2 separate regions of the Homo sapiens genome follow, and region 1 is linked to region 2. Evidence: promoter capture Hi-C in human tissues and cell types (Jung and others, 2019). All regions are on one chromosome and are shown on one strand. The core of a region is centred on a gene start or on the middle of the fragment in contact, and the rest is flanking DNA. Distances in the headings are between cores, read along the strand shown. Region 1 overlaps LAMA2 (laminin subunit alpha 2). Region 2 holds the start of LAMA2 (laminin subunit alpha 2).

Region 1 (4,072 bases), core at 195-2,694, 380 kb before region 2:
TTATATTCCCTGCCATGATCCTAACAGCAACTACTGTCATTGCTGTGTTCCACTGCAACTACATATTAACCCTTCTCCTTCCTATTATTCATGCCCTCCTAAGACACATTCTTCCTACTGTAGCCATAATGCCTTCTTCAAAAAAATGTAACTCAGGCTGGGTGCGTTGGCCCATGCCTGTAACCCCAGAACTTTGGGAGGCTGAGGTGGGAGGATTGCTTGAGCTCAGGAGTTCGAGATCAGCCTGTGCAACATATTGAGATCTTGTCTCTATTAAAACAAACAAAAAAAAATAGCTGGGCATGGTGGTATACACCTGTAGTCCCAGCTACTCAGGAGGCTGAGGCAGGAGGATCACTTGAGCTCAGGAGTTTGAGGCTGCAGCAAGCTATGACAGCATCACTGCACTCCAGCCTAGGTGACAGAGCAAGACCCTGTCTCAAACAACAAAAAACACCCCAAAACCCAAAAATGTAAATCAGATTACACTACTCCACTACTCTGCTGAAAGGCTTGTAATGATGTTCCATGCCATGAGAATAAAATGCTCATTTCTTATCATATGTGCAAATCTCCTCATGGCCTTGCTTTTCCAATCACTTCTTGTCCCACTTTTCCCCTTGCTTACAAGGCTCCAGCCACGCTCCTTCTTTCCAGTCCTTACAGACTCCACGATCTATGCTGCTTCCTTAGCAGCTGGTTTTACATCGTTGTCCCTCTCATTCTTCAACACTCGATTTAGCTGTCACCACCTCAGGAAGCCTTTCCTGACAAACTTTTACAAAGTAGACTTTCTAACCTTCATACAACCACTTGCAGTAACTTTATCATAGAACCCTGTTTATTTCACCCTGTTTATTTCCTTCATAGAATTTGTCACGTTTATTTCTATTTGCTTTCTGGCATATCGTTAATGCCACCACTCAGTGCAACGTCCTTGGGGACAGGGACAATATCTGTATTGTTAATGGCACTATTTTCCCTGTGTAGGGTCTTGTTTGTCTCAAAATACACGCTCATCAAATACTAGTCAGCTAAATGAAAGTACGAACAAACAAACAATTCTATGAGGTGGTTAATATTATTTTCATTTCATGGAAGAAGAAACTGAGATTGCATAACACTCTTTTTAATAGTATATCCCCTGTCTCATCTGTCAAGTGAAATCTATGATGACAGCACTATGAAAGTAAGAAAATTTTTGAAAGATTTAACTGCAGAACACTTCACAAGAAGTCAAGTAGAAATGAGAAAAAAGATCCTGAATCAACACTATGGCCCCAAATGAAGTAAAAGAGAATGTCTACAATGGAGTCATTTGATCCTTTTTTGGCCAGAGGTTCTCAGCAAGCTGGAATTAAGACATTAATGGTCTTTGGCGTTTACTCAGCTTTTAAGGGATCCCAGGATATTAGTGATAACAAGGCTAGAATGACTGGCCTTACAAACTACACTTAATTGAAAAGCAAATGAAATAATGAAAGGATAGGACTGAATAATAGTGAATTTAGGGACAGAAAGTTTTGATAAGGAAAAAATGAATTTTAGAGAGTAGAAGAAATGAAGAAGTCAGAGAGAAAATCCAAAGTTCCAAAATTCATTGTCTCTTGATTCAATTAAGTTCTTTTATGGATTACAAAGTAATTTTATTTATCAAACAATTATTGTGTGACAGATACAGGAAGCTTTTATTATCTCTCCTTTTTTTTTCACACTCAAATGCTTCTATCTATCTGTTACCATTATTTAGCATCCAATTTAAGATTTCTCCACTCCAGGACACTTTGCATCTCTCTCCACTGCAGTAGCTCATCCCTTTGAATGATTATTGCATGTATGTTCTGTAGCACATACCTCTCCCTTAATTATACAGTGCTGAGATCCCATTTTTCATAGATATTTATTGTCTCCCTAAACAGATAGGACAGGGATTATGTTGTATGTACTTATTAATAATTTATACAGGTAAATTTACAGAATTTATCAAACATATCTAGAATGTATTGAAAATATTTTTGAAGGAGAGAAGGAAGAGACTAAAAGCATAGCCAATTAAGCAATTGTAATATTCAAGTAATTTTATATTCAGTGGGCACTTAGAATTTGTATAAAAGATAATGCAAAGGATGAGAACAAAGTATGTGGAAACAAGCCTTAAAACAAGAGTAGAATTAAGTTATTTATTATGCCAATTGAGAGAGGATCTTAAAAGTTCAAATAGTTTGGAATCAAGAGCAAAAGGCTCTTGTTTCATCAAATACATTGTGTATTTTATATGTAAAATCAAATTTGGGTTGACATAGCTAATTGATATCCATAATTATTTTTCTCTCATCTACATGAATTTTGGAAAAGCAAGTACTTCTATAAGTTATATCTAGTTTTATTTCTAGAAAGGTGAATCTGAGCTCAGTTAAAGGAAACACAGCTGTCATGAATATGACTATAATGCGTATCTCTAGATGTATGCATTATTTTAAAAGTACGAGAGAACTGACAAAGCAATGCCTAGAGTATTTCTATAAATGGCATAATGAGGTAGTGTTCTGAAGTGGAACATCTCAGTACACTCAAATGATTCCTTAAAGGCACCATTTTAAAGAAACTAAGCTCCTATTTATCTGCTAGCCATGCGCTCTGTCAAGGAAATAGTGTTCACATTTTTTGACCAGGTTTCAAGTAAAACCAGTTTCACACCAGTTTTCTGTGTAAAAGAAAATACACAGAAGCAAATAAAAATTGTTACCTTAGGATGACACACTGCGGTATTAAGTAAGAACCATTAATCTTATTATAAATCTAGGATATTGAGACAACAATAAATATCTCAAACATTAGGTGCTAAACAAATCAAAGACCTGTAGGCAGTTTTCTATATCAAGGTATTTTTTCCATATATTATATTCTTGACATTCTGAAGATTATATGCTTCAGATGATTGTGATTTGGTTGTATTCTTAGAAATGAAGTAGAGGAAAAGTGTGATACAGAATTAAAAAATGAGAGAAAAGTAAAAAAAAAATAGAGTGCTAAATTTTGGATAACATTATGATGAAAATGAAGAGAAAATATTTTGAAGTGCTATTCTGCTACCATCCAGCATACAATAGATCAAATATGTAGCAAAGACAGAAACATCAGATTTTCAGTTATAGGCAAAATATCTCAGAGAGAAAGAGTTACAAAATGAAATTATGTGGTTAATACTCTAATTGAAAGCCACAGCTTTTGGTAGATATTCAAGTTTTGTTTTTAAGTGATACACATTATTTGTGTAATTATTGATAGAAAAAAAACAGCTCTTATTAGAATAGGTTATTGAAAGCAATGTTGAGGGAACTTTGAAAGCACTAAGGATACATTCTTGCAAGCTTACTTCACAAGAGGAGCCAGTATACCCTGGTGGGCACTGACACACTTCTACAGCTGCTGCAATGCTTCCATCAGTAGGATAGGAGACAGCGGATTCAAGGTTAACAGAGCTCAACCTATGGCAGAGGAAAAAAGAGATGGTGAATAAGTAAAGTTCTTAGGTATTATACAGCTGTAGGAATCGTACAGCAACAATGACATAAATATAAGCCAATTATGCATGCTGAGAAAGGAAGCTGATGAATACCATAACCAAAAGCTCTGGTCCTTTGTCATATTAGGTCAAGTTGGCTCAGTCTAAAGTGCTCACAATCACCACCACCTCCAAATGCTGAAAAGATATGAGAATGTTCTTCCTCGTCTCTTGGCTCTTGGCTATGTGTTTTGATTTTCATTTTTTGGAGACAGACATTTTTAAAATCATATAGTTAAAGGGTCTTTTAAAAAAGAAAACATTCCAATGACTGCTTGATTTCTTTTAGTGCTTAAACAAGGAAAGCAGAAGTAGGCAATATTAATATTCCATCTTAGCTTTTAAATTGAAATAAAAGATGGAAACAATTTTGTTTTCTTTTTCTTAGAGATAAATCTGCTTGTTTGTAGTTGGTATAAGCTAAACTTTCTCAAAGTGCTCAGTTGACTGACTTAGAATGATCTCTGGAATTTGTTTTTGGCCTAAATTAAATCCATTGTTCTCTGT
Region 2 (3,631 bases), core at 9-2,508:
TTCTAACCTACAGATTTTGTACTCTTAGGTTAAACATTTTCATATTTAAAACCGAATAATAAATATTTCTTTTTTTTTTACTTTGATACAGGTTTTCCAACTTAAAGAATTGTTTGCTGAAATAATGTGTTACAAAGTATGTCTTACAATGCTGCACATGTGCTTCCTGTAAAATTCATGATAATAAAATAACTCTTCAAAGACTCCCCAAAGTTTCAGAAATGAGAGCTATATATACATAAACACTAAGAGGCTCTGAGGAGAATAAGTTATTTAAGTTACATTAAATACAGCCATCTTCCAAAGTCCTCCAAAGTGTATATCTAGTCACTGTGGCCTTAAAGTACACATGACATAGAAGTCTCCTCTGTATTTAAGCAAAAGGAGAAATTTCACGATTTCACTACAATAAAATAGGATATGAAGATAAGATGTGGGTTTGAAAAAGGTGAGGCTGGAGGCGCCATTGCCATGAAAGAAAAAAAACCACATAACTTCTTTAGAAATCCTGTTTTAAAAGTTGAAAACAAAGTTCTGTAAAACTTTATATATATATATATGTGTGTGTGTGTGTGTGTGTGTGTGTGTGTGTGTATATATATATATATAATTTTTTTTTGATGCATCAGCTACCCTCCATAAAGTCCCAGGATGAACCACACAGCTTGGGAAGCCTTTCTCTGCAGGATGGGCTCTGATTTGAAGAAATTCTTTTTTTTCCAATTGGAAAAAGTTTTCCTCTTGGAAAGATTTCAGAAATCAATTTACGGGATGTATCGTGATAGCAAGACCTCTTCGAAACTAAAGAACAATGAAAAGCACTCCCCGTTCCTTTTGCAGGACTTAGGTAATTCCCCCTACACTACGCTCTCATGGCATTGAACTTGAACTTGCTTCAAGTTCCTCTTGCCCCAGAGCGCACTCTCTGAAGGCGAAGCAAGACGGCAGTCCACAGACAGCAACTCTCGGAAGAGTGGAAGAAGTGAGGAATCTCGGTCCCGGCAAAGGATGCAACCCAAGCCCATGCCTCGACTGTACCTCTTTGCTGATGTGCCTGTGACTGCCGCTGCTGCTGCGGCCGCTGCGCCTGTACGCCCCCGAGGCCTCCGGAGAGCAGCAGAAGGAGGAGGACCCCGGCGGCTCCCGGCATCGTAGTGGCCGCGACCGGATCCACTTCTCGGGAGCCAGAGGAGTCGCTGCCGCCCTGTCCCCTGGCCTTGGCTTGTGAGCTGAGCGAGCAGCAGCTGCTGGGGAAGAGGAGGAGACAGCCCCCTCTGGCTTTGGCCGGGCCGCCGCCTGAGGGTGGGGGAGAAAGAGGACACTCCTCCACTCTCGCCTTCCATGGGCACGCGGCCCCAGGACGGCCCTCTATTAAAGGATCCTCCTTTCCTAGAGCGCTCCTTCCCTCTGAGACCGGATCATTCCTAGCTTGACCTGGTATCTGAACTTCTTTTAAATTAAAGAAAGTAATTGACATGAAAGCACTTTGAAATCTGTAAAATCCCTACACATGGAAAACATTATTTCTGGGAAATGCAAACAGCTAGGAACTTTTACCTCTTGAGAAAGGCCTGGCAAAACTGTGTGCAGCCACTGTGTACCTAGAAGATCCAAGACATCCCCAAGGCCAGAGTGTCTGAGAAGTTACTAGCCGAGGGAAGGTGCCCTCTGGGGACACTGCAGGCTGGGGAACTTACTGCTAGGTAGGCTGCTGGGAGGGCAGTAAAGGAAGTGCAAAATAAAACAGCCACCCTGGCGTCCCTGAAATGTTCCTGACCAAACTAATGGTTAGAATGAAGGCTTTCAGTTCAGTTAGGAGACATTTACTTAAAGGTAATAAAGGCCTTTGCAATAGTTTCCTTCCAGACTCACAATTTCATCTCTTCCAGTCCTGGTTTCTCCTCTTTCTCCTCTTTAACTCAACAGAACTACTGCCATTCCTAGTTTTTGTTGTTTTTTCATTTGTTTTTTATGGCCTAGGTCAGTGGTTCTCATAAGGTTTAAAACAACTCCATAATGGATTTTGTGAGTCGCAGGATGTCTTTTGGTTTACTCCGGGAACGGTGGGTACTGCAGGCATTAGTGTACTGTTGGGTCAGGGTGTGAGCTGTCCCTCAGTGGTCAGGACAGTCCTACAACATATTTTGTCCTTAGACTTCTGAATGGGCCACTGGTCATTTATGTAGTGAGTAAACAAACAAACAAAACAACAAAACCTTGCCTTATATTTGAAACCTAATTTAAGTTTGTTTCCACATCAAATTTTTGTGTGTGTTTTTTGTTTGTTTGTTTGTTTTTTTCTAGGATGCATCTACTATATACATTGAGAAGATAATTTACTTTGTGTTTTTGGATTTTACACCCATTTGTCAATGGGTGTAAAGATGTACTTTCAGAGAAGCACATCACTGATAACAACCTTGCCCATGGTACTTGAGTCACCAGCACAATATCAACATCCCATCGATTACACTGGGGTCATCTAAGAATAGGTGCAAACTTTTATTTTATTTTGCCTCCTAAGGAAGTTTTACCCAAGCATTTATATGTTGAAATACATATTGTCTTATATAGATAGTTTTCTTTTTTATAGTTAAGATGTATTGATTTATCTAAATATTATATTAAAGTTGAATTTTCTTTCAGTAAAATTAAGAGAGTATTGCTTTGAAGAGAATTGATTGAAAATCACTAGCCAAAGCCCATTCTTTAATATTATTCATGTCTTTTAGTTCTGTTAATATTATACCAGAAAGCTTTGTAATCCTTTTACCTTACTGTGGAAATTTGCAAAATGTAGTCTGCCCATGTCTGCACACTTATACATTATTTATTATTATAATAAACAATAATAAAACTTATATTTGAGAGTTTATTATAATTGAAGCCCCAGTGTTTTTAATTTGGTCTAATTTTGCCTAGAAGTGTTTTTCAGGTACATCTAATAGCAGAGAGGCACCCTAAATTAACCTTCTAAACCTATTGCTATTCTCAGAATGATTATTTTTACTCAACCACGTTGTGGCCTCAACTCAAATTAGTTAATCTAATAAATAATAAAAAATATTTATAAAAAGGAAAAGTTTTATTGAATATTTATAAAAAGGAAAATGATTATTTTTACTCAACCATGTTGTGGCCTCAACTCAAATTAGTTAATCTAATAAATAATAAAAAATATTTATAAAAAGGAAAATCAGAATGATGCAGCTGCTAACTCTAATTGTGGAATGAAAATATACCATGTTCCCTCTATCCCCTTCCTCTTTACATTTTCCCAGGATTTTATAATCAATATTTGTACCTGCTTTTCTGCAGTTACTGCAGTTACCTGAGTTCCTATTTTACATGAAAATGCCTTGAGAATAAGACTATGATCTCCACTGTCAACTCTACTTGTTTGATTCAGCACATGGAAAAAATTCTTAAATATTTAACCCAAATTAAAATGAACCAGTATATTTAGAGCTATATTTTTTCCAAATAAACCTAAATAAGGTACAATTTACACACAATAAATATGCTCATTTGAAACATTTTTTAGATGTAAATACTCATCTGACAAAGTACCCAATACATAGTCTATTTCTATAATCTCAAAAAGTTTTCTTTCTGACCTTTTGCAATAAAT

What was found. Contacts are between HindIII fragments. The study calls those that stand out against the background at their distance.
Region 1: a contact is called between a fragment that was not itself captured here and the fragment with the promoter of LAMA2 in region 2, in 1 of the 25 tissues and cell types used here (heart left ventricle).

Annotation. Positions count from the first base shown.
Region 1 is chr6:129,260,127-129,264,198 of GRCh38, reverse strand. LAMA2 (laminin subunit alpha 2) reads right to left here. Exons shown (of 65, transcript NM_000426.4): 15 at 3,377-3,488. Among named protein-coding and RNA genes, the nearest start is that of LAMA2, 380 kb to the right of the region's middle. The HindIII fragment of the contact is 4,785 bases long and covers 1-3,836 here.
Region 2 is chr6:128,880,765-128,884,395 of GRCh38, reverse strand. LAMA2 (laminin subunit alpha 2) reads right to left here and starts at 1,258. Exons shown (of 65, transcript NM_000426.4): 1 at 1,039-1,258. The coding sequence starts at 1,150. The HindIII fragment of the contact is 5,954 bases long and covers 1-3,631 here.